Linked DNA regions of Homo sapiens: regions 2, 3, 4, 5 and 6 are each linked to region 1. Evidence: promoter capture Hi-C in 16 types of primary human blood cells and fetal thymus (Javierre and others, 2016). All regions are on one chromosome and are shown on one strand. The core of a region is centred on a gene start or on the middle of the fragment in contact, and the rest is flanking DNA. Distances in the headings are between cores, read along the strand shown. Region 1 holds the start of ZFR (zinc finger RNA binding protein). Region 2 overlaps TARS1-DT (TARS1 divergent transcript). Region 3 overlaps DROSHA (drosha ribonuclease III). Region 4 overlaps DROSHA (drosha ribonuclease III). Region 5 overlaps C5orf22 (chromosome 5 open reading frame 22). Region 6 has its middle 42 kb from the start of PDZD2.

Region 1 (3,125 bases), core at 424-2,923:
GCACAAAAAAGAATTGAGGCATTGTTTCTGCTCTGGCACAAGAAAGTAGGACAAAGCCCTGAATTTCATGGGTGGGTTCTGATTCACCCTTTGCATTTCTTTTTTTTCCTTTCCTTTTTTTTTTTTTTTTTAAGACGGAGTCTCGCTCTGTCGCTCAGGCTGGAGTCCAGGGGCGCGATCTCGGCTCACTGCAACCTCTGCTTCCAGGGTTCAAGCGATTCTCCTGCCTCAGCCTTCTGAGTGGCTGGGACTACAGGCGCCCGCCACCACGCCCGGCTTTTTTTTTTTTTCTTTTTTTTTGAGACGGGGTTTCACCATGTTGGCCACTGACCTCACCTCGTGATCCACCCGCCTCGGCCGCCCAAAGTGTTGGGATTACAGGCGTGAGCCACCGCGCCCGGCCAGCATTTCCTTTTAATGTTCATATCCAACAATGAGGAGAGATGAGGAGCAGGGAGTCTGGGGGATGGGCATGGAGAAGGTAAGGAAGAGGTGAAATGCAGGCAGTACATATGTACTTGATGGAAGACACGAAACATAAGGCCAGAGAAACTAGACGATCAGAAGAGGGACTGGAAGAGGAAAGAGAATGGTTGAAAACGAACTGAGAAACTAAAGGGAAGAAAGCGAGGAAACAGAGGGAAAGAGGAAATGCTTACATGGGGGCAAGTACTGTTCTGTCCTTACCACTAAAGATCTGGCACGTGATCTGGTCTCCCTCTCACTTGACTCCAGCCAGACTGATCTTCTTGCTCTTGAACATTCATTCCTTCATCTGGACCCTTCCACTTGCTGCTCTTCCTGCAGGCATCTCCCAGGCCTGTCCTTCCTTCCTTCAAGTGGTCTCCCTAACCACACTCTACATGAAATAGCACCTCCCTTACCCTTATTTTCCTTACTCTGCTTTATTTATGCTTGAAGCTCCAGTCACCATCAGACAGAATTTCTGTGTTTTGGCTACCGGCTGTTGGCTGACATATACCCGCTCCTAGAACGTAAACTCCACGGGAACAGGGACTTTGTTTTGTTCTCTGCCGTATCTCCAGCACCTACAACACTGCCTGACACCCTGCTGGGTGACCGATATACGCCGGATGGCTCAGGGAGTGGGTGCAGGTCGAGGAAAGGGTATAGCAAGAGGTATGTCCGGGAGGGATGTTTAGGGTGTGCTTTTAGTCCAACAGAAAAGCACTCTCCATCCTTTTTCTATTTCTCTCCTCTCCTTCTCCCTCCCTCCGCACTTCAGAGGTTGGGGAAAAGCTGCGGGAAAGCAGGAAATAAGGAAAAATCCTAAATTGCCCAGCTCGAATTCCAATGAAAAATTAATGAGCGAGGAAGACAGGGAGGCAGGGAATAAGTGCACATGCAAAAGTTAAGGAAGCCAGTGGAAAGCAAAGAAAAAGGCGAACAGACGTCACTCTCTCTGGTCACGCTCCCCGACTCCCCAGAGGACAGGCGAGGCGCTTCTGGCACACGCCCCCGTCGCCCCGCGGCCGCGCGGCGTCACCACCACTTCGGAGAAGGCCAGGCCCCTCTTCCCCCGCGGGCTTCCCCGCGCCCGCACCGCCGAGGCCCCGGCACGCGCCCGGGGGAGCCGCGAAGACGGCGGGGACTACAGCTCCCAGGATGCCGAGCACAGGCGCGCCTGCGCAGTGCGGTCGGAGGCGGCGGTCTGTTCTCCGCTGAGGAGGAGCGGGGCAGAGGAGGGAGGCAGCGGGTGAGAGTTCAGAGTTCAGCAGCAGCAGCCCGAGCCCATGATTCCCATATGCCCTGTAGTTTCTTTCACCTATGGTGAGTCTAATGTGGCCCGCGAGGCCTCTGCCCGGCCCCCTCCCTGGCCCCGGGCAGCGGGGAGCCGCGGGGGTTGGGGCAGGCTCCGGGGAGGAGGCGGCGGCCGCCACCCGGGCGTGCGAGTGAGTGAGGGAGTGCGAGGCGGGAGGGGGAGGCGGCGCGGCCGCGGCCTGGGCCCCGCCAGGGCTGCTCTCACGGCGCCTCTCTCTTTCTCTCCCTGCCCTCCCTCGGCGTCTCGGCTCCTCTGTGTCTCTTGTCCCGCCATGGGACCCGACTCTTCGTGCCCGCCGCAGTGCCCAGCCGGCTGGGGGAAGATGCCAAAATGGCGACCGGCAACTACTTTGGATTCACCCACAGCGGGGCGGCGGCGGCGGCGGCTGCGGCCCAATATAGGTAACGGCATCCTGCCTTCTCTCTGTTCGCCCCTTGCTCTCCCCTCGGTCCGGATCCTGTCGATGCGACGCCCCCGCGCCCGTCCCCAGCCATCCCAGAGCCCCGGCCCGCTGCAGGCCTGGCCCGGCCCAGCCCGGCGGCCTCTCCCGCCCCGCCCCGCCCCGCCCCGCCTTGCCCGGCCCGGCCCGGCCCGCGGCGGGGAGCGGCCCCCAGTAGGGGGGAGGTAGAGACGGCGGAGGTGTAGGGACGTGGAGGCCTCAGGGCCCTTCAGCGGCCCCTTAACTAAAATGGCCTCCTGCGGCCGCCGAGCGGAGCCGCCACCGCCGCCCGGCAGGCCCCCCAGTCCCCGCCTCCGCGCGTCCAGCCCCCACCTCCCATCTTCTTCCCACTTGGGGGATGGAGAGGGTGGCTGAAGGGACCTCACGGGGAGTGCCGTGTCGCAGGTCCACTGGCTTCTCGTGCGACGCCTCTCTGCGTCGTCGCCTGGTGCTTCAACCCCCGGAGCCCAGATAACGTGTCGTTGTCTCGGGTACCTTTTCCTCCGCCGTGGGGCTTCTTCCCCAGACGCTCCATCGCTAGCGAGTCCTGCTGACAAACTGCGGGTGTCACTGTGTTCATCGGGTTCCTTTAGTTTTTCCTGCAAGGAGAGAGATTCACATACCAACCACCTGTAAATTGTGTAGTTCTTAGACTGGAAAAGATGTGCGAAGTTTCTAGTGCTGATAAATGAGTGCCCAGCCTTGTTTGAGCTATGGAGTTTAGGCCCCAGGTGGGCCTGTCATTCTCCTTGCGGGGGTCTTTCCCCTGCGGGGAATGGTGGGGAGGGAAGAAGATGCAAGTGAGATTGTACTGAGTCATTGTAATGCACCGGATGAAATCCCTGCTTTAAGGGAAGCTCTCATTTCTGAAGTCTGTAGTTCATTATACATCTTACCAAAGAC
Region 2 (3,125 bases), core at 209-2,708, 980 kb before region 1:
ATGTAGAAAACAGAAACTGGACCCCTTCCTTACTCCTATACAAAAATTAACTCAAGATGGATGAAAGACTTAAATGTAAAACCCAAAACTATAAAAACCCTAGAAGAAAATCTAGGCAATACCATTCAGGACATAGGCACAGGCAAAGATTTCATGACAAAAACATCAAAAGAAATTGCAACAAAAGCAAAGATTCTCTCTCTTACTGCAAATTTTATTTAGTTAGGAGTTTTTTTTTTTTCCTTAGGAAATAACTCTCATAAACTATTTTCTCAGAATGTAATGCATAATCTGGATAGTATATACAACTTAGACCTTATGTTCCTCAAGAATATATCTACTAATGCCTATTTTGTTTTAGGCTGTTCTGTGATTTGTGCCTTTAGAGAGTTTACAGTCTGCTTGAAGAAATAAAATATCTCAACATAAAGATAAGCAATACAGGGGATGAAGCCAAGATAGAGGACTAGAAGGAGCTCATATGCGCCATTCTCACAAAAAGGAAACAAAAGGGCTAGTGAACACTGACCCTGCAGGTCAATCATCTGAGAAGCCATGTTGGGATCCATCAAGGCAGCAGGAGAACACAGGGAGCAGAGAGGAGCAAAGGTGGGCACCAGCCTGTGTGGGCTCAGCGTAGAGTCAGGAGAACCTCTCCAACATGGCAAAGAGTGAGAGAGAGCCCCCAGGTGGATTCATGCTTTAAAGACTGGGAATAGGACAATCCCCTCAGCCTTCCCATGACCCCTCCCCCTGCACTATGCTTCTAGACTGAGGCAGAGAGCCACACAGATGTGGGAGCAACTCTTGGATTCAAGGGGACCTCTACAAGCCTTGGGCTGTGAAGCAGACTAGCACCAGCACATCAGCCCCAATAGAGGCCACAGTTGTGGTGCCTGGGAACAGTAAGATTGCTCCACCCCCTCTTGCTGAACGTGGCTCGGAGCTTCCAGTCCAGCAGTCTCTCTTTCCCCTAAACTCGGCCAGCCACTCCACCCACCCACACCACCCCAGTGCTAGCCAGGTGGCCAATGCTTGCTAGAGCTTCTAGCCCAGTGGTCCCACTTCTGTGTGAACTCAGCCAGAGAGTGCAGTCTCCTATTGTCCTGGGAAACACCCAGACAGTAGGGTGCATGATCCCATACATTTCTGATACTGATAGCTAGGTGGGCAACACCTGTAGAGCTTTGGGCCCAGCGATCCTGCTTCTGTGGAAATTCAGCTAGTGGGTGCAGCCTCCTGTTGTTCCAGGAAGCATCTGGACAACAAGGCAGTTATCCTCACCCACTCCCACCACTGGTAGCCAGGGGAGCCACATCTGCTAGAGCTTCTCGCCCAGTGGTTCTACTTCTGCCTGAATTTACCAAAGAGTTCAGCCTCCTGTTGCCCTGAAAACCCCTACAGCAGGGCAGGCAACTCCATCCATCCTCCCCTCCCATAGCCAGACAGGCCACATCCACTAGAGTTTACAACCCAGAGGTCCTACTTCTGCCTGAATTCTGCAGACAGGCACAACCCATGTTTTCCAGGAAGTACCCAGACAGCAGATTAGGGCTGACTTGGCAAGGATACAGCTTGTCTACTAACTGCAGCCCCTACCGAAGGGAGCCCAGTGGACCAGAACACTCAACAAAAGAAACGTGGGCATGGAAACAGTAATCAGAGGAGGCTTCTCCAAGACCCAGTAGTGAACAAGAATTGAATCCAATCAACTGAACTCACCTTATATCATACATAATCAAATTTCCAAGGGCATCAAAGGACAACAAAAACAACAACAAAAACAAAAACAAAGGACAGCAACTTCAAAGACTGAAGGAACATCAGCCCACACAATAAGAAAGAGCCAGCACAAGAACTCTGGCAACTCAAAAGGCCAGAGTGCCTTCTTTCTTCCAAGTGATCACACTAGTTCCCCAGCAAGCATTCTTAACCAGGCTGAAATGGCTGAAATGATAGAAATAGAATTCAGAATATACATAGGAATAAAGGTCATTGAGATTCAGGAGAACATTGAAACCCACTCCACAGAAGCTAAGAATCACAATAAAAAAATACAGGAACTGATAGACAAAATAGTCATTATACAAAGGAACCAAACTGATCTGATAGAGCTGAAAAACACACTACAAGAATTGCATAATGCAATGGCAAGTATTAACAACCGAATAGGCCAAGCTGAGGAAAAAAATCTCAGAGCTTGACACTGATCCTCTGAAATAACTGTCAGACAAAAATAAGAAAAAACAATAAAGGAGAATGAATAAAACCTCCAAGAAATATGGGATTGTGGAAAGAGACCCAATATATGACTCATTGGTGTGCCTGAGGAAGAAGGAGAGAAACCAAGCAATTTGGAAAATATATTCTAGGATATTGTCCATTAAATCTTCTCCAACCTTGCTAGAGAGGCCAACATGCAAATCTGGGAAATACAAAGAACCCTCGTGAGCTATTACCCAAGAAGATCATTCCAAGACACATAATTATCAGTTTTTTCAAGGTCAAAATGAAAGGAAAAATGTTAAAGGCAGCAAGAAATAAGGGCAGGTCACCTACAAAGGGAACCACCAGGCTAACAGTTGACCTTTCAGCAGAAACTCTACAAGCCAGAAAAGATTGGGGGCCTATATTCAACATTCTTAAAGAAAAAAATTTCTAGCCAATAATTTCATATCCCACCAAACTAAGTGAAGGATAAATAAGATCCTTTTTAGATAAGCAAATGCTAAGGGAATTCATTACTATCAAACCTGTGCTACAAGAGGTCCTGAAAGGGGCACTAATTATGGAAAGAAAAGACCATTACCAGCCACTACAAAAACACACTTAGATACACAGACCAGTGATACTATATAGCAATGTTTATAGTATGCATAATGACCAGCTAACAACATGATAATAGGATCAAATCCACACATACTAATATTAACCTTCAATGTAAACAGGTTTAATGCCCCAATTACAAGGCACAAACTATACTACAGGGCTACAGTAACCAAAACGGCATAGTACTGATACAAAAACAGACACACAGACCAATAGAACAGAATAGAGACCTGAGAAATAATGCCACACACCTATAATCATCTGATTTTTGACAAAGCTGACAGAAATAAATAATG
Region 3 (3,125 bases), core at 455-2,954, 970 kb after region 1:
TATACACACAGCCAGAATTCCACCTGGTATGGTATATATGTAACAGAAAAATATGTATATATGCTCACTAAACAACACGTACATGTCTTTGGTGAACGTACATATGCTATTCAAATATACAGATACAGATATATAGTGAATATATGTTATATATAGTGAATATAGAACATGAATATAAATGTCATGAATATATATATATCTAATACCTTCTCTGTAGATTGCTTTTTGATCTTCTTGATGATTTTTGTTGAATAGAAATTCTTAATTTTTATGTAGTCCAATTTATAGATATATATTCCTTTATGATTAGAGCTTTTTGTATCATATTTATGAAATTTTCGCCTACCCTAAAGTCAAGATACTCACTTATATTTTCTTCACTTTCAGAGCTGTAATCAGTCTTGAATTTGTTTTCACAATTCGTATGAGATATGGGTCAAAACTCAGTATTTTCAACGTGGGTATCCAATTGACCCAGCACCATTTATTGAAAAGAACAATTTCTTTCTTTAGAAAATTGAAGTGTTGCTTTTGCTTTTGATTGAGTTGACTCTGTGTGTATGTGTGTGTATACAAACAATACAAAAGTATGTAAAGTAAAAACAGTGAACACTTCCTTCTGAACATGTGAAAATGGGTAAATGCTGTAAATGGCTTGATTTGTATTGTTTTAACTGCTTTAAGGAGAATTATGCTTTTTTTCTTCAAGTGGAATAACAATATGTTACACAACTTCCTTTTTTTTTTAAACTCAGATACTTCAGGCATTCTCTGTACTGTAAATGCTTTGCTTCATTCTTTGATGCATACTTAGCATTTTATAGTATGGATGGACATTAATTTGTTTATAATTCCTATGGTGACAAATATTCTGGAGTTCTCCATTGTTTCCCCATTTTGTATAAATGCTTCAGAAATAGTCTGTGTCTATCCTGTTGCATTTGTTTGTTTCTGTAAGGTAGAGTTCTAGTAGTGAAATTATGTGTTAAGATAGTATGTACATTTTAAATTCAGAATGATGTTGGCCAAGTTTTCTCTAGAAAGGACATACCAATTTGTAGTTCTGACCAACAGTACTCTTTCTGACCAACAGAAAGTACTCTTTTTCTATACACCTGCCAATACTGGATGTTACTAGTCTTTTTTTTGAGACAGAGTCTCACTCTTCTCACCCAGGGTGGAGTGCGGTGGTGCCATCTCGGCTCACTGCAACCTCTGCCTCCCGGGTTCAAGCGATTCTCTTGCCTCAGCCTCCCAAGTTGCTGAGATTACAGGGACCTGCCACCATGCCTGGCTAATTTTTGTATTTTTAGTAGAGACAGGGGTTTGCCATGTTGGTCAGGCTGGTCTCGAACTCCTGACCTCAGGTCTGCCCGCCTCAGCCTCCTAAAGTGCTAGGATTAAAGGCGTGAGCCATCACACCTGGCCAGGATGTTACTAGTCTTTTACAGTTTAGTCCAAGCTTGTCCAACCCACAGCCCATGGGCCACATATGGCCCAGGACGGCTTTGAATGTGGCCCATCACAAATTCGTAAACTTTCGTAAAACATTTTGAGTTTTTTTTGGATTTTTCTTTTTAATCTCATCAGCTGTCGTTAGTGTCAGTGTATTTTATGTGTGGCCCAAGACAATTCTTCCACTGTGGCCCAGGGAAGCTGAAAGATTGGACATTCCTGGTTTAGTCCATCTGATAAGCGAAAAGTCTGATGTTACTATTTGCATGTTTCTTGAACTTCTTTGAGAATGAGTAACTTTCCGCATTTTTCAGGTATTTTATGGTTTTCTCATTCTGACTTGCTTTTTGTTTATGTCAGTTTATTATAATATCTAACTGAAAATTCAAGTTTTATAAGTCATCATCATATTTCTCTAATTCTTCAGTTTATCCCTTTTGAAGATAGCTGTCCCAGTTGCTTTATACAACTTTACCCAAAAGTAAGCTTGATAGTTTAAACCAAGGATTATTCAATGTTGACCAGTTTACCAGAAACCAAATCATAGAGCAATCAGTTTATTGAGATTTAAAATTTTTTCTCAAATTTTTGTTTCTTTCCTATCCCACTCTCTACCTTTGGTCGCAAAATAGTTGATATGAACTAGACTGAGTATAAGGTTTTATTCTGAGTGTAACTGGGGCAAAGGTAGGTCGTGATTCAAGATAGTGAGATCACACTTAGGGGAAAGCCTACTCATTGCTTATATTACTGCCCTAGTAAAGCATTGCAAATCCTGAATCAGTTTTGCAAATTGACTGTCTAGAAAATTGATTCTTTGAAATTGCCCCATCTGGAGCAGTAGTTCTCAGGTGTGGCTGGCAGGGGGCCAGGAGGTGGGAGAGTATTGCAAAATTTCCAGGAGGCAAGTGTAGTTTGCAAAACCATCTATTAGTACCACAACTTAATATACATTTGGAAAATTTAGAAAAGACTTGTTAATACGTATTTTAGAAAATAAGATTATTAGGATGTCTCAGCAGGAATATCCAGAAGACACAGAAACGCAGTCATACAGTTACTGTCAGTGTAGAGAAAGGGGATAATATTTTTGTATTTCTTAAAGTTGAGTACTAACAGTTGAGAAATACTCTTATAAGCAGCCATATTCTTAATACAGATTCTCTAACAAATTACCCCCTCCCCAAATAACCATATAAATAATCAAGCAATATAAACTGAGAGAATTGGGTCTCTAAGAAACAGTTTATAAAGTCTGTCAGTTCATTAATGACTGTCCAGATTCATTCCCTGAAACACAAACTCCAGTTCTTCCCGAATAATGAGCTGTTGTCACAGTTCCAGTCCCAGAGTTGGCGGAATTCCTGCTAACCTTAGCTTACCCGCTCTCATTTCTCATTTATATCATGTCCTATTTATTTCAGCCAACAAGATAAAAATTACTTCCTAGCCCTCAGTGACATGGCTCCATAAATCCCCAACATAAACAAGTGGCAAGGCAGACAAACCAAAAGAGCCAATTCATTAACATTAGTGAATTCATGGCAGCCTGAGTGCGAGTGGCCAAGTTATTAGTCTGCTTTAGAAAGTCATTCCACAAATGTTTATGGAGTGTCTTTTTGCCAGGCTGGGTGTGAGAGATATAGCCCATGCCCTGTGGGCTCTGGCAG
Region 4 (3,125 bases), core at 337-2,836, 920 kb after region 1:
TAGAAATATCCTCTAATTAGAGTTTTTATTTGGAAATGTACGCAATTATTTTTTTCAACAGCCGTGCCATTACAAATTACATATATCTTTGACATGTGGCATGGTTCACTAATTTCTATACAATAACTAAGATTTACTGCCCAAATGTAAACTCTGATTTTAGAAGTGTATGAGATGAAGAATGTAGAATCCAAATCTCTGGCTGCTTTATTTGGGATAGCTGGTATATATCTGAGGATTGTATATATATCAGAAACATTATTCAAAGGAGTCTTCCTTTAGAACAGGGGAATCTTTAAGTGGAAAGCAATTTCTATTTTAATACCTAAGCACTCACCGATCTCTGTCAGTTTTGTAAGTTCTATTTTCAATGTATTGACATTTCTGTTTGGTGATAGGTTGGGGGATATTTTTGAGTTCAAACATTTTAATGGTCTTCTTTCTGGACTCAGGTTAATATAGCATTTTATTTTTCCTGTTCTAAGATTGGAAGGTTACTTCCTTTAGACTTGTAGTTCTGATTCAGACACACTAGAGTTCAGATTTCTCTTCTAGGTCCTCATTGTTAAATAGGCTCAAAAGCTATTAATATTATTAAACCCCAGTTTTACATTGGAAGGTTTTAAAAATTCCTCATCTATTTTTTTTTACATTAAGTAAGCCCAACATCTCTATTTAGTTTTTTTTCCAGATGAAAAATAGCATTCAAGTGACTTAGTCATGGCCTCATGGCAGGTTAGTGATAGCTAGATCTACAACTCAAGCCTATAAGCCATAAGCATTAAGAGCTCTTTCATTATAGAACCTTGTCCTAATTTTCACTATAAAAGCTTTATAATTTACATTTATTTGATAGGTAAAATAGAGCATTTTTTAGAAATCAATAGGATGTGGAGTTCTTTAGAGTTTTCCCTCTAGGTTAAATAACCAAGGATTGGCTGATTGCAAGGTTTTAAGGGAAGATTAGGATAAAATTCCCATTATTGCGTAGCATCATGTATGACTTCTTTCTTTAAAGAAAACTGCAAAAATTCTCCAAGTTAGTTAACTTCTGTAAAGTGAAAAGCTCCTTTATCCTCTAATAAATTAAGAAGGCATAAAAATGTCCCCCAGTGAACAGTGCCTGAAAAATTCCTAGATGTGGTCCATTTATTTACAAGATGAATTCAGTGAAAAGAGATGGTGTTTTTGAGTCTTTCTGTTGAAAACAGCTCTGTGTATTAATTCCTTTAAGAGAGCGAGAACGGGAGAGACACAGGCATCGAGACAACCGAAGATCACCATCTCTGGAAAGGTCCTACAAAAAAGAGTATAAGAGATCTGGAAGGTAAGCAAGGAGTTGACACTGAAAGAAGTCATAGGATTATCTCCTTGAATTCAGATTTTGTGCTTGTATGGAGCAACAGCCAAGTCTTCATAATGGCCTCAGAGTCTGTCCAAGATGACCTGTGAAAAGCTAAAGCAGACTGTAATTTAAAAGACTTTACTTTCAAGATGCATTGATTATGCACAAGGAAAATCTTGATAAATTTCCAAAAATTAGAAATTATACAGACCACTTTTTCTGACCACAGTGCTATAAAACTATACATTAATCATTTTAAAAAACCTTGGAAATTCATAATTATGCTCTTAAATTTACATGTTTCAGAAAAAAAGAGCAAAACTGCAGTCATATTTTCATTAGAAAATGACATTGAGATTGCTATCACCCAAAACTTAAAGGGTGTAATCAATTCTATATCCCGAAGTAAAATTTTGTGGTCTTACATTAATATGATGGTAATGAAGAACAGCACTCTAGAATCTGACAGATTCGGGGTCAGTTATTAGCTCTCCCAATTTTATTACTGGGCAAAGTTATCAGTGTCTTCGTTTGTAAAATAAGGACAGTTATATGTACCTTCTTGAGTGATAAGGGGTCATTGAGATAATGCATGTCAAACACTTAGAACTGGGCCTGAAGTAAGTGCCAAATAAATGGTAACTATGTATATAATTATTATCTGAGCACTTGGCTATAGAAATTGGTGGAGCTTAAGAAAAGCAGAAAAAGGGATTTAAAGATAAATTAATGAAATGGAAATAGAACTACAGTGATATAACTATATTGTAAGTAAATGCAAATACAATTTTTAAAGTGGGAAATAAAAGAAAAATCTACATAACATTAGGTTTGAGAAAGTGTATTGTTACAGGAATGAAAAGAAATTAAAAAATTTAAAACCGTTTAAAAAATTAACTTGAATGTGATGGGTTGATTTCTAAGAAAACAAAAATAATTTCACACAAGAAGCAGAAAACTTTAATAGGTCAATAACTCGAAAAATGGAAAAAGCTTACTTTGCACCACCTCTAAAAAAAGCTTTAAAGTGGTCTTGAACACTAAAAAAAGATGGAAGGAAAGCTCAGCTCATTCTGTAGTAGCAGGAAAAACCAGATGGCAAAACCTAACCAAGGGAAAAAAAATGACACAAAAACGACACAGCAATCTCTCTTACAAATATGGATATAAAAACACGAATTAGGATATTAGCAAATGTTTTCAGTAGTTTGTTAAAATAACAGATAGAGTTTATTCCAAGACTGCATGGATAGAAAAGTTAATATTAGAAAATCTGTATTGTATGTGTCAAAATCTGTAGGGTTATCTCAGTACTTACCTTTTAGGTATTTAAACTAAAATCAGCATCCATATGTGAGTAAAAACTAGTAAACTAGAAATATTAACAGTTGTCTTTAACATGATGAAGAATGGTAGCTCACGATGAACCTGATGGATACCATCCCCAAAGAGTCAAATGTGGTGTTGAAACCTGCAGGCCTTTCCCATACAAATTTGAAAAAAGGCAAGGAGGCCCCATTGCTTATCGTTGTTACTGAATATCCTTGTGATACAATCAACATGGTAATTAAAAACATGGTGTTTTTGTGTGTCCCGGGTATTGTACTGGTATGGGTGATATAGGCATTAACAAAGGCCCCCACTTAATAGGAAAAGGAAAGTTAAGTGCTGTAAGTGCGTTTGATAGGACACTTACATGTTGCTCTGGATTAGATGAGATTAATTAGGAAGGATGAAATGCCATGGGTTAGATGGGATTAATTAGGAAAGATGACAAGAG
Region 5 (3,125 bases), core at 433-2,932, 900 kb after region 1:
CCACTTACTATGTGACTTGGGGCAATTTACTTAACCTTGGTTTCCTCATCTATAAAATTGACATAATAATAATAAAACCATAAGACTGTTGTAAGGAGTACATGAGATAAGGCAAGGAAAAATCTTAGATAAAGGGTACACAGAAAACACTCAATAATGTCTACTATTGTTAGTAAATGTGTTGAAATTTAATACTAATTCTTTTTTTTCTCTCTTTTTTGAGACAAGTCTCTGTCACCCAGGGTAGAGTGCAGTGGCATGATCACAGCCCACTACAGCCTCAAACTCCTTGGCCCAAGCAATCCTCCCACTTCAGCCTCCCAAGTAGCTGGGAGCAGTGGCTGTAGTGGCTACAGGTAGGTGCCACCATATCTGGCTAATTAAAAAACCTTTTTTTAGAGACAGGGTCTTGTTACATTACCCAGGCTGGTCTGGAACTCCTGGCCTCAAGTGGTCCTCTCCTGCCTCAGTGTCCCAAGTAGCTGAATACTACTTTTTTAAAAGCAATGTATCTTGCAAATTTAGGAACATATCTAGGACTGAAAGTTAGTAGAGTTGGGGGAAAAAAATGTTTGAGAGTCTTACCCAGGGTTTGAAGCCCATCTCTGTACCGTTTCTTCATCATCACCATCACACAAATCAGCGAAAGTGGCTTCTAAATCCTCTAATTGATGAATTCGAGTATCAACAATATCTACCAAATCTTCCTTTAAATACATTGAAAAGCTGAGATTATATAGTTATTCTTTCAAAAAACAAGCAACATCCCATTACAAAAAAAACTTGGCTCTATTAGTTAAAACATAATTTTCAAGTACTAACCATGGGCTTCGCCAATACACACACACACACACACACACACACACACACACACACACACACTTTGAGCAGTCTTTGAGATCACTGTGGTAATTTGCAAGATATTATTAGTTATATGATAAATGAATAAAACCCCAAAGAAACAAATGGAGGATACCTCTGTTAGGTTGGTGCCAGGTTTCTTAAATTGGTACAGCTCTTGTAAGATTTTGTACTCTTCCTGGAAAACAAAACAAAAAATCCACATACCAGAAAAAAAAAAGTTAAAATTTTTTAATGATATGCTTTAAGGAAGAGACAACCTTCCTTGTGATACAAGAACATCTTAGATAATTATTTAAAGGTATGTATGGGAGAATCAGGCAAAATGTATACTTTAGATTTTTATTGTAATAATTTTATTGTAAATATTGTAAAATTTTGTTTTATTGTAAATATCACTTCTTCAAGGCAACTCTATCCAGCTGGGCATGGTACTACTATGTAAAAATTACCTAAGGAAGCATACTTGGTGGCTAATGGGTCACGAGATGAAAATATTTTAAATAATATTCTGCTATATAAATGCCATGTCCTAGGATCTAAACAGACTTAGCTGTTTACAGGAAATATACATATCTTTAATAACAACAACAAAGAACTCCCTATGTTCACTTTGCAGCCATTTCTCTAACAACAGAAGAGATCTCTGAAGTACAAAGGCAATACTGGAGGTAGAATGTCAAAGACATAGAACCTCGGTCAGGAGGCACCACACAAGGGGAGAAAGAGGCTTGCTATACAAACTTTGTAGGATAATGTTTCCCCTTGTTTAGCACAGCTACATGGATCCATTATATAGGTGGGTACACCTGGCCCCAGTAATCCTATTTAGGAGTATTCTCAGGAAAAGGTTATACCCAAGGGCTAAAATTCATTAAGCACAATGTTGTGGCATATCTTCAGTGCTTTATTCATTATAACAATCCTGAGTTGGGTATGATTATTATTCTGATTTGATACTTGAAGAAACTATGGGTCGGAAAGGTTAAGTAATTTTCCTAAGATCATATAGCTAATAAGCAGTAGAGTTAACAACAGAACTTAACTCCCCTAACTTTTGAACATGCTTCTTTTTTATGAGATGGGGTCTCGCTGTCACCCAGGCTGGAGTGCAGGGGTGCGATCACGACTCACTGCAGCCTTGACCTCCCAGGCTCAAGTGATCCTCCCATCTCAGCCTCCTGAGTAGCTGGACCACAGGCACGTGCCACTATGCCTGGCTAAATTAAAAAAAAAATTTTTTTTTAATAGAGATGGGGTCTTGCTACGTTGCCTACGCTGTTCTCAAACTCCTTGGCTCAAGTGGTCCTCCTGCTTTGGCCTCCCAAAGTGCTGGGATTATACGCATGAGCCACCATGCCCAGCCTGAACATGCTCTTAAGAAAAAAAAAAAGATGAACATCTGTCTTTCCTAATGATATTTAAAAAATTGCTACTAAATAATAAAGTTTAATATATGCTTTTTAAAAAGTCCATTGTACCAAAGGGTATTTAGGCTATACAAATCCTTGTGTTCCCAGGTTTCCTAATAGCACTCTAAAAGGAATAACTGCCACTGAATTCCTTATGTAACCTTCTAGAAACTTTCATTACAAATATTTATTACAAATATTTAGGTGAGTAATCAGGCACATCACTGTTTAAGGAATAATCTGTTACACAGGATTTATATATAGAATATCGCTGGAAAGATACACAAGAAACTGATCACAGTATTTGTTTCTGAAGCAAAGAACTGAGGGAATGGGGATAAGAGAGTGCTGTTTTTCAATGTACACTTGTCCCTTGGTATCCGTGGGGGATTGGTTCTGGGACCTCCTGTGGATACCAAAATCTGTGGATGCTCAAGTCCCTGACATAAAATAGTGTAGTATTTGCATATAACATATGCATACCCTCTCATATACTTTAAGTCATCTCTAAATTACTTGTGGTATCTAATACAGTGTAAATCCTATGTAAATAGTTGTTATACTGTATTGTTTTTTATTTGTATTATTTTTTACTCTTGTATTGTTATTTCTAGTTGTTTTTTATTTTTTCTGAATATTTCCTATCTGTGGCTGGTTAAATCCAGGAATACAGAACCCACGGATACAGAGGGCTGACTGTATATACCTGTACTGTATGACTTAATTTTTATCCATCACCCATGTATACATTACCCCAATTAATAAATGCAAAATAATGAATACTATCTAGAGCAGGAGTTGGCAATCCACAGCCTATAGCCTGTTTGTGTATGGCCCTCAAGTTAAGAATGG
Region 6 (3,125 bases), core at 161-2,660, 850 kb after region 1:
TCTATGAGGACAAGATAAGTCCTGAGGATAAGAGACATTGTCTTTCCCAGCCAAAAGGCACCTTTAGTGAGTAAGGTCTTGAGGGAGTGTTGGAGCTTATCGCTCATGACATAAACTGTTCTAAAGGGAATCCCTTCAGAAGAATATATGGGGAACTTTGCTTAATCCTGTGAGCACACATACAAGTTGATCACCTAGTGCCTTAAGCACTCAAGTCTCTTGGGACCACCAAGACACATAAACGAGAAGAACTGACTCCAGGGTGATACTTTGAAGAGCTATTCCCACAATCAGCACACTCAATCCAAAACACCTCCCACTAGGTCTTTTTGGTCATTCAAAAGTAAAGTCTAAATTCTGAGCAATCATACTTCTAAAACTGAGTCTTCTTCCTTATGGAGAGATCCACCCTTAGAAACATCAGCTAGATTCATTTTTAATATTTATGGCACTTTTATATGCAAATATTTAGAAAAATGGTCTCACATAACTCACAATGACCAAATGAGCCAAATTATAATGGCCAAATGGGGGTAACTTTTAAGTACCTAACCTAGTTTGCACACTCAATTAGAAAAAGCTGGCACTAAAATAAAATAAAGCAACTGGCAGATTGATTTTCAGTGGTACTTGGAAGCTTCAAAAGAGGTTCTGATAAAATCATTTCTTTGCAAGAAGAAAACAAAAGTGCCTAAAACAATTTTTTTTTTTTGAGACGGAGTCTCGCTCTGTTGCCCAGACTGGAGTGCAGTGGCGTGATCTCTGCTCACTGCAAACAAACTCTGCCTCCCGGGTTCCCGCCATTCTCCTGCCTCAGCCTCCCAAGTAGCTGGGACTACAGGTGCCCGCCACCGCGCCCGGCTAAATTTTTTGTATTTTTTAGTAGAGATGGGGTTTCACCGTGTTAGCCAGGATAGTCTCGATCTCCTGACCTTGTGATCAGCCCGCCTCGGCCTCCCAAAGTGCTGGGATTATAGGCGTGAGCCACCGCACCCGGCCCTAAAACAATTTTTAAATTGAAAAAGACTGCTGAAATTTCTCCTTCTTCAGCTCTTCTTTCTCTTTTGTCAAAACTTCTTTGTTTGGACTTACCTTCCCTCTCTCCTCACCCCTCCCTCCCTCCTTCCCTCTTCCTTTCCTCCTTTCCTCCTTTCCTCCCTTCCTCCCTTCCTTCCTTCCTTCACCTCTGCCTCCTCCTTCTGCTGTTCTGACTCCATTTTGGGAATACCCTATGTCTAGTAGAGGAGAATCTGCCTTGGTTTAAAGAATTCCTGGATCCTCTTCAGGACCGCTACTGGATTTGCTAGAGAATTTGTTTTGTTTTTGAGACAGGGTCTTGCTGTGTCACTCAGGCTGGAGTGCAGTGGTGTAATCTCGCTTCACTGCAACCTCCACCTCCTGGGCTCAAATGATCCTCCCACCTCAACCTACCAAGTAGCTGGGATTACAGGCATGCACCACGATGCCTGGTTAATTTGCTAGAGAATTTGTATATGTGCTGCCGAAGTGAGCACAATTTGCTAGAGAATTTGAATTAAACATTCACACTTATAATCCTAGATTTTCTGATTTATTTCAGTTGGTTCACATTTAGTGTTACAAAGTAAAGCCAGGCTGGGCATGTGGCTCACGCCTGTAATCCCAGCACTTTGGGAGGCTGAGGCAGGTGGTTCACGAGGTCAGGAGATCGAGACCATCCTGGCTAACATGATGAAACCCTGTCTCTACTAAAAATACAAAAAATTAGCCGGGCGTGGTCGTGGACGCCTGTAGTCTCAGCTACTCAGGAGGCTGAGGCAGGAGAATGGTGTGAACCTGGGAGGCAGAGCTTCCAGTGAGCAGAGATCGCTCCACTGCACTCCAGCCTGGGTGACAAAGCAAGACTCCGTCTCAAAAAAAAAAAAAAAAAAAAGAAATTAAAGCCGAAGATTAGATAGCAAAGGCAAGTTGGAGAAATCCTTTAGAGGATCATGAATGGGTCTGCAATACCGCCAAAGTTTTACTAGCCACTATTCCCTTTGGTTTCTAAAGATTGGAACAAAATACAACAATGCAAATAAAATATTGATAAGGCCGTAATGTCATACTATGAAAAATTTGAAAAACATTTAAATAATATTCAGGCTTATCAGAAGAAAGTTATACTAATCACCAAAATGATATTCTCCTTAACTCAAGCTTTGTAAGTGGATTAGGTGAAGAATTGGCAGTTATAACAAAAAGACAATGCCCTATTTGGGGTACCTCTCAAACTCATGATCTAGTTAATTTTGCTGATCAAATGTCCTGTACCCTAACCCAGAAATAAAAGGAAAGGGAAGTTAAGCAGGGAGGAAAAGCAAATAAGATCACGAGTTTACAATTAAAACAATTGTCCAACCAATTTGTAACCCCTAAACAGCCTAAAAAGTTCCCAAACTGACCCAATCCCCTGCTTTGCAATTACTGCAAAAAGCCTGAATATTTCAAAATGGATTGTAGAAAACTAAAATGGAAATGACAGCAACAGGTCAAAGAAAAAGAATAAGGATGCTCTGAGGAAACCAAATGGACCTTTTCTTACCTCCTTATAAATACCTTAGGGAAGGTTAGAATTAATTTAAATGGAGACCAAACACAAACTCTTAATGACACTGTGGCTACATTATCAGTGATATATCTCACCTTATTACGAGGTTACATTCCTCAGAGTAAAAAACCAATACAAATCATGGGTGAAACAAATACTCCTGTATCACTATATCAATTTCAACCTATAGTTTTTCAGTTAGCTCCCCTAGAGGGAACCTAACATGTCTTCCTCTCTGCCCCCTCAGCCTCCAACCGTCTGATAGGGAGAGATTTCCTAGAGTTATATAATACTCACATATCTTTCTTTCAAAAGGGGGGAGGCCGGGTCCGGTGACTCATGCCTGTACTCCCAGCACTTTGGGAGGCTGAGGCTGGCAAATCATGAGGTCAGGAGATTGAGACAGTCCTGGACAACGTGGTGAAACCCTGTCTCTACTAAAAATACAAAAATTAGCCAGACGTGGTGGCATGCGCCTGTAATCCCAGCTACTCAGGAGGCTGAGGCAGAAAAATCGCTTGAACCTGGGAAGGGGAGGTTGCAGTGAGCTGAGATC

The links. Contacts are between HindIII fragments. The CHiCAGO score rates a contact against its expected background, and 5 or more counts as called.
Region 2: a fragment that was not itself captured here is called in contact with the fragment with the promoter of ZFR in region 1 in 1 of 17 cell types (fetal thymus); the score reaches 6.8 in fetal thymus.
Region 3: a fragment that was not itself captured here is called in contact with the fragment with the promoter of ZFR in region 1 in 1 of 17 cell types (total CD4 T cells); the score reaches 5.2 in total CD4 T cells.
Region 4: a fragment that was not itself captured here is called in contact with the fragment with the promoter of ZFR in region 1 in 9 of 17 cell types (total CD4 T cells, non-activated CD4 T cells, monocytes and 6 more); the score reaches 7.9 in total CD4 T cells.
Region 5: a fragment that was not itself captured here is called in contact with the fragment with the promoter of ZFR in region 1 in 9 of 17 cell types (naive CD8 T cells, total CD8 T cells, total CD4 T cells and 6 more); the score reaches 11.9 in naive CD8 T cells.
Region 6: a fragment that was not itself captured here is called in contact with the fragment with the promoter of ZFR in region 1 in 1 of 17 cell types (monocytes); the score reaches 6.4 in monocytes.

What each region holds. Positions count from the first base shown.
Region 1 is chr5:32,443,288-32,446,412 of GRCh38, reverse strand. ZFR (zinc finger RNA binding protein) reads left to right here and starts at 1,673. Exons shown (of 20, transcript NM_016107.5): 1 at 1,673-1,791; 2 at 2,085-2,184. The coding sequence starts at 1,755. RefSeq lists silencers at 1,371-2,060, 2,291-2,630 and an enhancer at 2,022-2,579. The HindIII fragment of the contact is 7,512 bases long and covers 1-3,125 here.
Region 2 is chr5:33,426,170-33,429,294 of GRCh38, reverse strand. The region is part of intron 1 of TARS1-DT (TARS1 divergent transcript); the gene reads left to right. Among named protein-coding and RNA genes, the nearest start is that of TARS1-DT, 13 kb to the left of the region's middle. The HindIII fragment of the contact is 7,594 bases long and covers 1-3,125 here.
Region 3 is chr5:31,476,758-31,479,882 of GRCh38, reverse strand. The region is part of intron 16 of DROSHA (drosha ribonuclease III); the gene reads left to right. Among named protein-coding and RNA genes, the nearest start is that of DROSHA, 54 kb to the left of the region's middle. The HindIII fragment of the contact is 479 bases long and covers 1,465-1,943 here.
Region 4 is chr5:31,519,325-31,522,449 of GRCh38, reverse strand. DROSHA (drosha ribonuclease III) reads left to right here. Exons shown (of 36, transcript NM_001382508.1): 6 at 1,235-1,327. Among named protein-coding and RNA genes, the nearest start is that of DROSHA, 11 kb to the left of the region's middle. RefSeq lists an enhancer at 103-272. The HindIII fragment of the contact is 1,508 bases long and covers 833-2,340 here.
Region 5 is chr5:31,538,863-31,541,987 of GRCh38, reverse strand. C5orf22 (chromosome 5 open reading frame 22) reads right to left here. Exons shown (of 9, transcript NM_018356.3): 5 at 977-1,039; 6 at 586-707. Among named protein-coding and RNA genes, the nearest start is that of C5orf22, 8.1 kb to the right of the region's middle. The HindIII fragment of the contact is 5,751 bases long and covers 1-3,125 here.
Region 6 is chr5:31,595,895-31,599,019 of GRCh38, reverse strand. No RefSeq gene overlaps it. Among named protein-coding and RNA genes, the nearest start is that of PDZD2, 42 kb to the left of the region's middle. The HindIII fragment of the contact is 1,541 bases long and covers 640-2,180 here.